2 separate regions of the Homo sapiens genome follow, and region 1 is linked to region 2. Evidence: promoter capture Hi-C in 16 types of primary human blood cells and fetal thymus (Javierre and others, 2016). All regions are on one chromosome and are shown on one strand. Each heading gives the region's core, a stretch centred on a gene start or on the middle of the fragment in contact. The rest is flanking DNA. Distances are from core to core; before and after follow the strand shown. Region 1 holds the start of ZNF862 (zinc finger protein 862). Region 2 holds the start of ASIC3 (acid sensing ion channel subunit 3).

Evidence for each region. Contacts are between HindIII fragments. The CHiCAGO score rates a contact against its expected background, and 5 or more counts as called.
Region 1: a contact is called between the fragment with the promoter of ZNF862 here and the fragment with the promoter of ASIC3 in region 2, in 1 of 17 cell types (fetal thymus). The highest score is 7.0, in fetal thymus.

The regions. Positions count from the first base shown.
Region 1 is chr7:149,836,650-149,841,661 of GRCh38, forward strand. It overlaps ZNF862 (zinc finger protein 862), which reads left to right and starts at 1,726. Exons shown (of 8, transcript NM_001099220.3): 1 at 1,726-1,986. The coding sequence starts at 1,963. RefSeq lists a silencer at 1,802-2,261. The HindIII fragment of the contact is 19,921 bases long and covers 1-3,526 here.
Region 2 is chr7:151,045,801-151,050,856 of GRCh38, forward strand. ASIC3 (acid sensing ion channel subunit 3) reads left to right here and starts at 2,731. Exons shown (of 11, transcript NM_004769.4): 1 at 2,731-3,619; 2 at 4,306-4,456; 3 at 4,681-4,808; 4 at 4,958-5,056. The coding sequence starts at 3,086. It overlaps ABCB8 (ATP binding cassette subfamily B member 8), which reads left to right. Exons shown (of 16, transcript NM_007188.5): 16 at 1-1,982. RefSeq lists an enhancer at 4,243-4,881. The HindIII fragment of the contact is 11,911 bases long and covers 1,746-5,056 here.

The DNA of each region.
Region 1 (5,012 bases), core at 476-2,975, 1.2 Mb before region 2:
TGACTCATATCTTAGTCCTACTGCTTTGATTCCCCATTTCCCCCTAGATACTGCTCCATTTTTCTTGGAAAGATGGAAAACCTTTTATGGAAAAATGTGTCAAAAGAATGATTTACCCTAGCTGTCCTCCAGTTTTTTAACCCCTAAAAGAGAATCTGTTATAAAGACATGGATAACTCATGGGCAGAAATATAGCTCTTCAAGGTAGTGATATAGTCGAGGTGGTGAGTGGCAGGCCACTTGGAATCCACAGAGTCCTCACTCTCTGCCTTCTCCTCCACATTTCTTGTGTCTCATTCTTTTTTTCAGTAATGCAGACTCCCCTACACTCCTCGAACGGAATTTAGGTCTATTCAACCTTGGCCAGAAGAGCAGAGCTGGATAATGGAAAACGCTTACTTGAAGCCTGTGTAACATGGTGAAACCCTGTCTCTACTAAAAATACAAAAAAATTAGTTGACCATTGTCTTAATCTCTATGTGCTTCTGTAACAAAATCCCTGGAACTAGGTAATTTATAAATTATGGATACTTATTTCTTATGATTCTGGAGGCTGGGAAATCCAAGATCAAAGCACCAGCAGTGTCTGTGTCTGGTGAGAGCCTGGTCTCTGCTTCCAGGAGGGCACCTTTTTGCTCTGTCCTCACATGGCAGAAGGCAGAGGGGCAGAAGGGCAAAGGGCCTAGCTAGTTCCCCCAGCACGCATGTGGTCACTAACACCTTCATGAAGGCACATCCCTGCCCTGGCCCCCTAAAAGTCTTTTTTTTTTTTGAGACATGGTCTTGCTCTGTCACCCAGGCTGGAGTGCAGAAGCGCCATCCCGGCTTACTGCAGCCTCGACCACCCAGGCTCAAGTGATCCTTCCACCTCACAAAATTATTTTATTTTTATAGAGATGGGATCTCTCACTGTGTTGCACAGGCTGGTCTCAAACTACTGGGCTCAAGTGATCCTCCTGTCTCAGCCTCCCAAAGAGTTGGGATTAGAGGTGTGAGCCACCGCACTTGGACAAAACTTCTTATAAGGACACTAATCCCACCATAAGGGCCTGACCCTCACGACTTCATCTAAACCTCCCAAACGCCCCATCTCCTGGGAGGGGAACACCGGTCAGTCCATTGCACCTCCTTTACCTGGCAGACCCTACCTCTTGCTTTAATTCTGCTGAGGCATCACTTCCGCAGGAAATCCTTGACTAAGCACCTCATATCCCCCACCGCTTCACTCTAAGGTGACAACGCGGGCTTTAATTCATGTTTTGTGCTTACCTCTTTCATAGCCCTTGTCTCTGTTTTGTAATTATCTGTTTCTGGTCTGATTCCCTAATAGATCGTGAGTTCCTTGAAGGCAAGGCCTTTGTCTCATTCAACTGTGTTCTCCCAAACCCTAGAACACGGCCTGACCCATGGTAGGCAACCAATGATACTTTTTGAGTGAATAGAACAAAAAGTATTGCCCTCCTTAATAAAAGAAAACCTAGAACTTCAAGGCTGACATTGGCCTTCGCGTAGCCCAATCAGAGCGCTTTGCCCTTGCTGCAGAGGACTAAAGGACGCCACGCCGCCGTTGCCTAGTAACTGTCGCCGGAGGGAGGCGGGGAGGGTCGCAAGCGCGCCGCCGGCGTCCAATCAGGACCTGCGTTCCGGGAGCCAATAGCAGCTTCGAGAGCCGCTCACCTAGAGCGGACTACACTTCCCGTCACGCCCCGCCGCCTGGGGCTGGGCAGTGACCGTAAAGCTGTTCGCTCGGTGCGACGCAAGTCTCAGCTCAGCGCGCTTATCCTGGGTCCACCGGCGCTACCGCCCCCCGACGTGAGAGAGCGAAGTTCTTGGGCCGCGCTCCCTCCCTACCTGGGTGCCCTCCCCCTCCGGGAGCCTGGGTCCCCGGGGCGGTCGCGGCGGCTGCATCCTCAGGCCAGGCCGCGGGGGGAGGGGGCGGCACGGGCCTCCGAAAGCGGGGCCATGGAGCCCAGAGAGTCGGGGAAGGTAGGACTGGAAGGCCCGGGGGCCGCCCGCTCCCTCCCGAGGATCCCCGAGCCGGGCTCGGGCGAGGCGGGGCGGCTCGGGCGGAGGCCCCGCAGATGAGCCAGGCTTGCAGGGAAGGACTCGCCGGCCCGCCCTCTCTTCCCGCACTTCGGCGCCCGACCCCGGGAGGGTGGCGGAGAGGAGCGGACGCTTCCGTTCGGTGTCCGCGCATCCTCCCCGAGCTGCCGAGCGTCCGCTGGGTCGATGCTGGGTTGGGTGACCCCCGAGTGGAGCGATGCGAAGGTGCTTCCTGTTTTCCCCACCACCTTCGGCGTTTTGAAGAGGCCCTGCTAAGGCTTGGAGTCTGGATCGGACGCCAGTGGGAGCTGCAGGGTGGGACGCTTGAGGGCTTGACCCTGCCTAGATCCTCCTTACCAAGAAAGGGCTGAAAAGAGAGGGCATCTGGCATGCTTTTTGCCACTTCTGTTTCTAGGTTATGTACTTCATGGAATATCTGGGCATTGCTTAGAAACCTGTGTCATAAATTGGCTTTGGGCAAGAGGCTTTGAGTTGGAAGAAAAGGTGGAAAGAAAGTGCTTGGGGGCGGAGTTCAGGGATTTGACGGGATTGCCAGCGCTTCCAGGCCGTGTCATCCAAGACCAGTGTGGTTGTGGGCACATTAGCTTGGAGACAGTGGCAGCCTCTTGGGACTAACATCTTTCTGGATGTTGTTTGCTGCCAGTTCTTGAGTATTGTTTCTTATTTGGCACAGAGGAGAATTCTCTCAACAAACGTTTTCGACTGTTTATTGAGTCCCTTAAAAAACTGTCCATTTAATAAACATTTGTGATCTGTGATTTGCATTGAACGAGATGCTGGAAGTATGAGGATAAATAGGAAATGATCACCTTTCTCAAGGAGCTCTCCTGCAGTTTTCACTTCAATAACTTGGACACGCCTGAAAGGGTTGTCCCACACGAAAAGAGAGAAAAGGATAATGAGGTTCTTTTGATGCTGTAGTTTTTCCTGGGAAGACTAGGAAGGACTCTGAATTTCAAAAGAGGTGATTTCTCGCATGAGCATCTCTTCCATCCTCCCTCCCTCCACAAGCTACAGTGATGCATGTAGCAGACACGGCACCTACAGAGTACGTGGTCCAAGCCAATAAAGCTCAACAAAACCCAAGCAAAGATGGAGCTTATGGCCCTTACCCTTTGGAAATATCCCCAGATTGGTTTAGATTGAACCTGAATTTGAATAAAGAGAAGCAAAATGTAGGGGGAAGAAGGATTATAAAATATTGGGATTGATATTGGTATCAGTGATTTGAAGTTGATTTCCAAGCTATTCTGTTCAGTCAGAGGCTTTCTTAGCCTTTAACGGGAGAAGAGAAATACGGTCATGCGCTGTATAACAAGGTTTCCATCAACACCGCTCTCACGTACAATCCCCTGAGACTACAGTGGGGCTGAGAAATTCCTATCACCTGGTGACATCTTCATGATCCTGACCCTGTGTAGGCTTAGGCTAATGTGTGTGTTTGTGTCTTAGGTTTTAAGAAAGCTTAAAAAGTAAAAAAAAAAAAAAAAAAAAAAAAAAAAAAAATTTAAAAATACAAAACCTCATAGAATTAGAATATAAAGAAAAATACTTTTTGTTGATGGAATGGTTTGCTGGAAAATAAAAATACAAAAATATTTAAAGAAAAATATTGTACAGGTGTACAATGTGTGTTAAGCTAAGTGTTATTACAAAAGAGTCAAAAGTTTAAAAAATTAAGTTTATAAAGTAAAACAGTTACAATAAGCTAGGGTTAATTTATTATTGAAGAAAGAAAAATTTTTGATAAATTCGGCGTAGCCTTAGTGTGCAGTGTTTATAAAGTCTACAGAAGTGTTCAGTCATGTCCTAGGCCTTCACATTCTCTCACCACTCACTCACTCACTCACTCACTCACCCAGAGCAACTTCCAGTCCTGCAAGCTCCATTCATGGTAAGTGCCCAATACAGATGGACCTTTTTTTTTTTTTTGTCTTTTCTACCATATTCTTACTGTACCTTTTCTATGTTTAGATACGCAAATACTTACCATGTGTTACAGTGGCCTACAGTTTTCAGTACAGTAACATACTGTGTAGGATTGTAGCCTAGGGGGCAAAAGGCTATATACCATATAGCCTAGATATGTAGTAGGCTGTACCATGTAGTTTTGTATAAGTACACTCTGTGATGTTCCACAATGACAGAACTGCCTAAGGACACATTTCCTAGAACTTATCCCTGTTGTTAAGCAACACATGACTGTACAAACATTTTGGGAGGTAGAGGAGAAACCTGATTCCGTGTCCTGTCCAACCACTAAGTGAAACCTCAGAGACTGGAAATTTCACCCTTGATTATAATCTTGATTTTAGGGTATCTCAGAAAGGTGCTCACCCTTCCCAAAGATAGTTGTTTTCTAATATGGGAAATGAGAACTTCATACAAGAATGAAATAAAGTAATTACAAAACCAACTGTCAGTGTAAGATGTGTTGCAAATGAGTGACAAGGAATAGCGGTGCTGTTCTACAACTCCACTCCGAACAGCATTCTTATGGCTCAGAACTGGGAGACTACCTCGTGAGATAGTGGTTTGGTCTATTACTAGACTCTTCCTTGGGTGCTGTTTTGTGGTCTTTATTAACTGACAGCCATCTTGGGCCATTGGATTGATATCCCACATTGAATGTAGGACATCTTGCCTGTCATTGACAGAATAATGGATAAGGGTCAGACTTTTCCCCATCATGTTCTATCCCATGATCCTGTTTTATTTTCTTCCTAACCCTTATCACTAAATAAAATTCTCATGTTCATTTATTTATTTACGTATTTGTTGACTTGACTCTTACATCCCCAGCTAGAACAGTGGAGCAGTTCCTGGCATTTAATAGGGTCTCAGGAAGGAATGCTCATAAAATAGCATCACTACAGGAGCCCTTTTGCTGCAAGGTGTGGGTGCTCTGAAGAACACTGCAGCCCGCCACCTCATGTGCCTCCTAGGAG
Region 2 (5,056 bases), core at 1,481-3,980:
CTTGCTAGGACCTCACTTCCCTAGACTGGCGACTGACTCCCTCTCCTGTGTCCCCACTCCCTCCATGGGAGAAGGAGCCTATCCCCTGGCTCACCCCGGGACCCACAGTCCCCATCTTCCAAACAACCTCCCTCCTTTCTCCCTGCACAGTGAACACAGTCCTGATTTCTAGATTTCACCTCCCCTCCCCACCCACAAGGGACACAGGCCTAACAGGGCCCAACACTTGGGTCAGGGTAGGAGGGACGGGGCCACAATGGCCAGTTCCCACGAGAAGCGCCAGCCTGCCTGGCTGTCTTCCACCGGCCCTGCCCTGTGTGCCTGGCGTCTTTCACCCACTGAGATTGTGAACCAGCCTCCATCTACACCAAGAACACCCAGCACTGAAGGAGATGGGAGGGGCTGATGCCCACCTGGAGCTCTCTGCTTCCTGCCCACAGTGCTGACGAGTACAGAGCTAAATGGAGCAGCTACTGCAGAATCCAGTACAGAATCGGTCCAGGAGGGTGCGGCTGTGGACAGGCCAGCATCCCCAGCAGGTTCTGGGAGGCGCACCTTGAAAGGGGAAGGCAGACATCCTGAGTGATGGGCGCCTGTGGCCCTGAGACTGTGGATGAGGGGGCTAGGCTCCAGCTGGCTTCTGAGGGGCCTGGAAAGGCACACAAGTAGGTCCTTGGCTGAACTGGTGCCCCAGCAGGACCTCGTGTCCCTGCACTGCTGCAGATGCATCAGCCCTCCCCATGTTGGTGCCGCTGTCACTTCCTACTGGGATCCTTCCCCTATCCAGCCACATCCAGGCTGTGGGACTACACGGTGCCCTGTTCCCCTGGGCAGGAGAAGAGGTGGTACCTGCAATGCACCTTCACAGCCAGGCAAGCATTCTGGATTTACCCTGTGTAAAGAAGGGTGGTACCCTCTTTCAGGGGTGTGATACAGTGCATTGATGGAGCAGCTGGTGCTGCTGGGAGGCCAGCCTGGAAGAGGCAGCAGTGGCTCAAGTTTGCGTGCAGGAGCCAGAGTGGGACCCACGGGCTCTTGTGGGTGTGGTTTAGAACTAGATGGTGCTTTGGGGACAAGCCATCCAAAAACCCCAGGCCCACATCCACCCTGATTTGATATCCCACTTCCTGACAGATCAGAGGCTGTGTCTTTAAGCAGTGGAGGTCCAGGAGCAGAGCCTGGGGCTGGTTCACAGCTAAACCCCTCCTTAGGGCAGCCCAGAGTAGGGCCTCAGCTGGCAAGTCCACAAGCCCTGCTGGGGCCCTGCTTGTTGGCCTGACCCCTCCCTCACCAGGCAGCCAGCCAAGGTGGTTCCTGCTTCACCCACTCAGTCATCAGCCTCAGGCTGCCCAAAATGCCTCTGACACCAGATTTATATCTTCTGGGCGGCTTCTTTAAATCCAGCCCTTCACCCGCCCCCTAGAGAAGCAGTGAAACCCCTTGGCTAGTCCAGCTGGAAGAGCTAGACCGCAGGAGCCGCGCCGTCTTCCTAACCTCGCCTCGGCCTTCGCTCCACAGTGGAGAGTGGGAGCCTAGCTGTGCTTGATGCTGAATGCCTGTTTTGAGAGTGTGAGTGGGATCATCTACAGTAAATACTTGCAAAGCATGGCACTGTGGCTCTGGGGAGCTGGTACGCCTGTGCTGTAACCATGGTACTCAGTCCTTCCAAAGTGTTTATTAATCAAGCACCTGTCATGTGCCATTGAGCCCACGATGGGGAATGAGGACAGTCCCTGCCCCCATGAAGCTTGTGTCCTGTTGGGAGGACAGACAGGTGGCCCAGCAGTTGCAGCATGGTGTGTGCACACGTTTGGCTGGTGGAACCATGTTTCTACCACTCATGGTCAAAAAAAGCCCACCAAAGTCCTGGGAGTTCACATCTGTGTGATGATACGGCAACATTGTTTGTAATGGAAAGACTGGACACCCCCAGTGCCCATCAGTGGGGGAGTCATTAAATAAACTATGGTATGTGCACATAATGGGTGGTATGCAGCCCTTTGGAAAAATGTAGGTTTTCCAGGTCCTGGATATAGCAGCGTAAGATGGGAAATCACAGAATACCCATGTTGTGCCTGAGATGGCAGGTGGGGTACCCGTGGTACCCGGGAGGGTGGCAGGTGGGGCACCCATGTTCTACCTGGGGTGGCAGGTGAGCCCATAACCATTGTAGAGGCCAACATCCTCAGAGGCCTGAGTGTGGGGAGGTAGGCTTTGACTCCCTAGGGAGAGAGGGACACTTAGGAAACAGACGGGCCCTGGAAGTGGGACATGAAGAGTGCCCTGGCCATCCAGTGTAGGCTGAGATGCTAGGGGCACAGAAAGAAGAGATCTGCTGATGCCAGCCTTCCAACCATTTCCCAGCTTGGCCAAGAGCCAGCTCTGGTATTCGTGAAGGAACAGATCCTGGGTGAAGCTAGAGGGAAGGCCGCAGAGGCAAAAGGAGAGAGGAGCTAGGCCAGGGGTCAGCGACTGACCCTCGCGGCCAGTGTACAGGGGTTGCAACTGGGAGCCTAGGGGGCCCCAAGGCATCTCCAGGCCCAATCTACCTCTGGGCTTTTCTCAAGCTCTCCCTAGGATTACTGCGGTTTCCTCCTGGCGCCTCTCGTCTTGGACAGCCATGCCCCCCTCCATGCTGCACTAATGGCTCAGCCTGGGGCCCTAGGGACCTCTCCTACCCCCCAGACTGCTCTGTCGGCCCCCTTTCCCCCCTACTGCTGAAACCCAATCCTCTGCAGCAGCGCCGGCTCAGCACCGCCGGCTCAGCACCGCTCCGCAGCCCCTGCCTGCCACGGTCAGCTACGTCCCACCTGGTCTGCTGCGGAGTCCCCAGCCCAGTGCCTAGCCCAGTGGAGCCACCGCCTGTTCCTCGGGAAGGAACAGTGGGACCTGACCGGCCAGATCACCTCCTCCAATCCTGCCAGGCTAGTGCCTCCCTGCCTTCCAACCTTGGCTGTCTCCCACCCTCTCTTCTCCTCTCCTTGCCTGGCCTCCTGAATCCTATCTTAGCCTCCTTAGCCCCCTGACTGACTCTCTCTCGCTTCTTCCAAGCCTCTGTAGCTGGTTCCGCTCCTGGGTTCTGGCCATGAAGCCCACCTCAGGCCCAGAGGAGGCCCGGCGGCCAGCCTCGGACATCCGCGTGTTCGCCAGCAACTGCTCGATGCACGGGCTGGGCCACGTCTTCGGGCCAGGCAGCCTGAGCCTGCGCCGGGGGATGTGGGCAGCGGCCGTGGTCCTGTCAGTGGCCACCTTCCTCTACCAGGTGGCTGAGAGGGTGCGCTACTACAGGGAGTTCCACCACCAGACTGCCCTGGATGAGCGAGAAAGCCACCGGCTCATCTTCCCGGCTGTCACCCTGTGCAACATCAACCCACTGCGCCGCTCGCGCCTAACGCCCAACGACCTGCACTGGGCTGGGTCTGCGCTGCTGGGCCTGGATCCCGCAGAGCACGCCGCCTTCCTGCGCGCCCTGGGCCGGCCCCCTGCACCGCCCGGCTTCATGCCCAGTCCCACCTTTGACATGGCGCAACTCTATGCCCGTGCTGGGCACTCCCTGGATGACATGCTGCTGGACTGTCGCTTCCGTGGCCAACCTTGTGGGCCTGAGAACTTCACCACGGTGAGCTGACCTCCCTACCTATCCTGCCAGGGACCCAGAGAGCCGACCAGTCCCTGCCCAGCACCCACAATTCCCTAGCCAGCACAGGCTCCCCCAAAGCCAGGGGACCTCTTCCTTCCTACCAGCCATGGACTCCCCACCCCCCAGTGCCACTCCGTGCAGCCCAGGAAGCTGTCCTCCTTGGGGCTTTCTCTGTCTCCCAGCCCGAGGGGAGCATGTGAGGCCACACTGACCCCGGCTGGCCCTAGGCCTGAGGTCTGGCCCAGGGAGGCCCTGCTCCTGGGGCTGGGGGTCCTCCATGGTGGGACCATTCTGGGGCAGAAGACCCCTATCTCTGCCAGGAGGTGGGGGGGGCTTGCTTTCCCTCTGCCTTTTCAACATACTGCCAGCCCCGGAGGACAGCCACAGGGGCCCATTTCCTTTTCCTGCAGTTCCCAGAGAAACACAGAAAAACCTGTAGGCTGTGCCCTGGGCTTTGGTGGGGATTGGCGGGGTGGAGGAGCTGAGTTGATGGGCTCCCAAGAGCGTCCTGCAACATGTGCCCACTGGAGCGTGGGGCTGGGGGCATTGAGATGCGGGCTTCAGTATTCAAAGAAGAGACGCAAACATACCATGAGGTGGGGAGAGGTCCCATGACCATGTGCCTGCCTGGGGGAGATGGCCATCACCCTGTCTGCCCGCCCCAGATCTTCACCCGGATGGGAAAGTGCTACACATTTAACTCTGGCGCTGATGGGGCAGAGCTGCTCACCACTACTAGGGGTGGCATGGGCAATGGGCTGGACATCATGCTGGACGTGCAGCAGGAGGAATATCTACCTGTGTGGAGGGACAATGGTAGGGAGCACACAAATGAGGCTGGGGGAGGGCACGGATGGAGTGCAAAAGGCTAGGGGAAGGAGAGGAGGAGAGGAGGTGTCAGGGTGTTCCCCCAGAACCTGTGAAAGGGGCTGGGCTGGCTCATCCCAGTCCTGGGGAGAGGGGCTGCAGTGAGAGGTCTTGTCTGGTTGGGCAGGAGACCTGACCACACAGGTCAGGCCTCACAGGTCCCTCCCCGACAGAGGAGACCCCGTTTGAGGTGGGGATCCGAGTGCAGATCCACAGCCAGGAGGAGCCGCCCATCATCGATCAGCTGGGCTTGGGGGTGTCCCCGGGCTACCAGACCTTTGTTTCTTGCCAGCAGCAGCAGGTACCCTTCCGTGTGCCTCCACACCTACTACTTCAAGCCCACACCACCTCAGACCCTAAACCCTCAGCTCCTCAGACCTGTCTAGGGGCCTCTCCCCAGCTGGCCTCTCACGCTCTCCGGGAAGCCTCCTTAACCCTGTCCCCCCACAGCTGAGCTTCCTGCCACCGCCCTGGGGCGATTGCAGTTCAGCATCTCTGAACCCCAACTATGAGCCAGAGCCCTCTGATCCCCTAGGCTCCCCCAGCCCC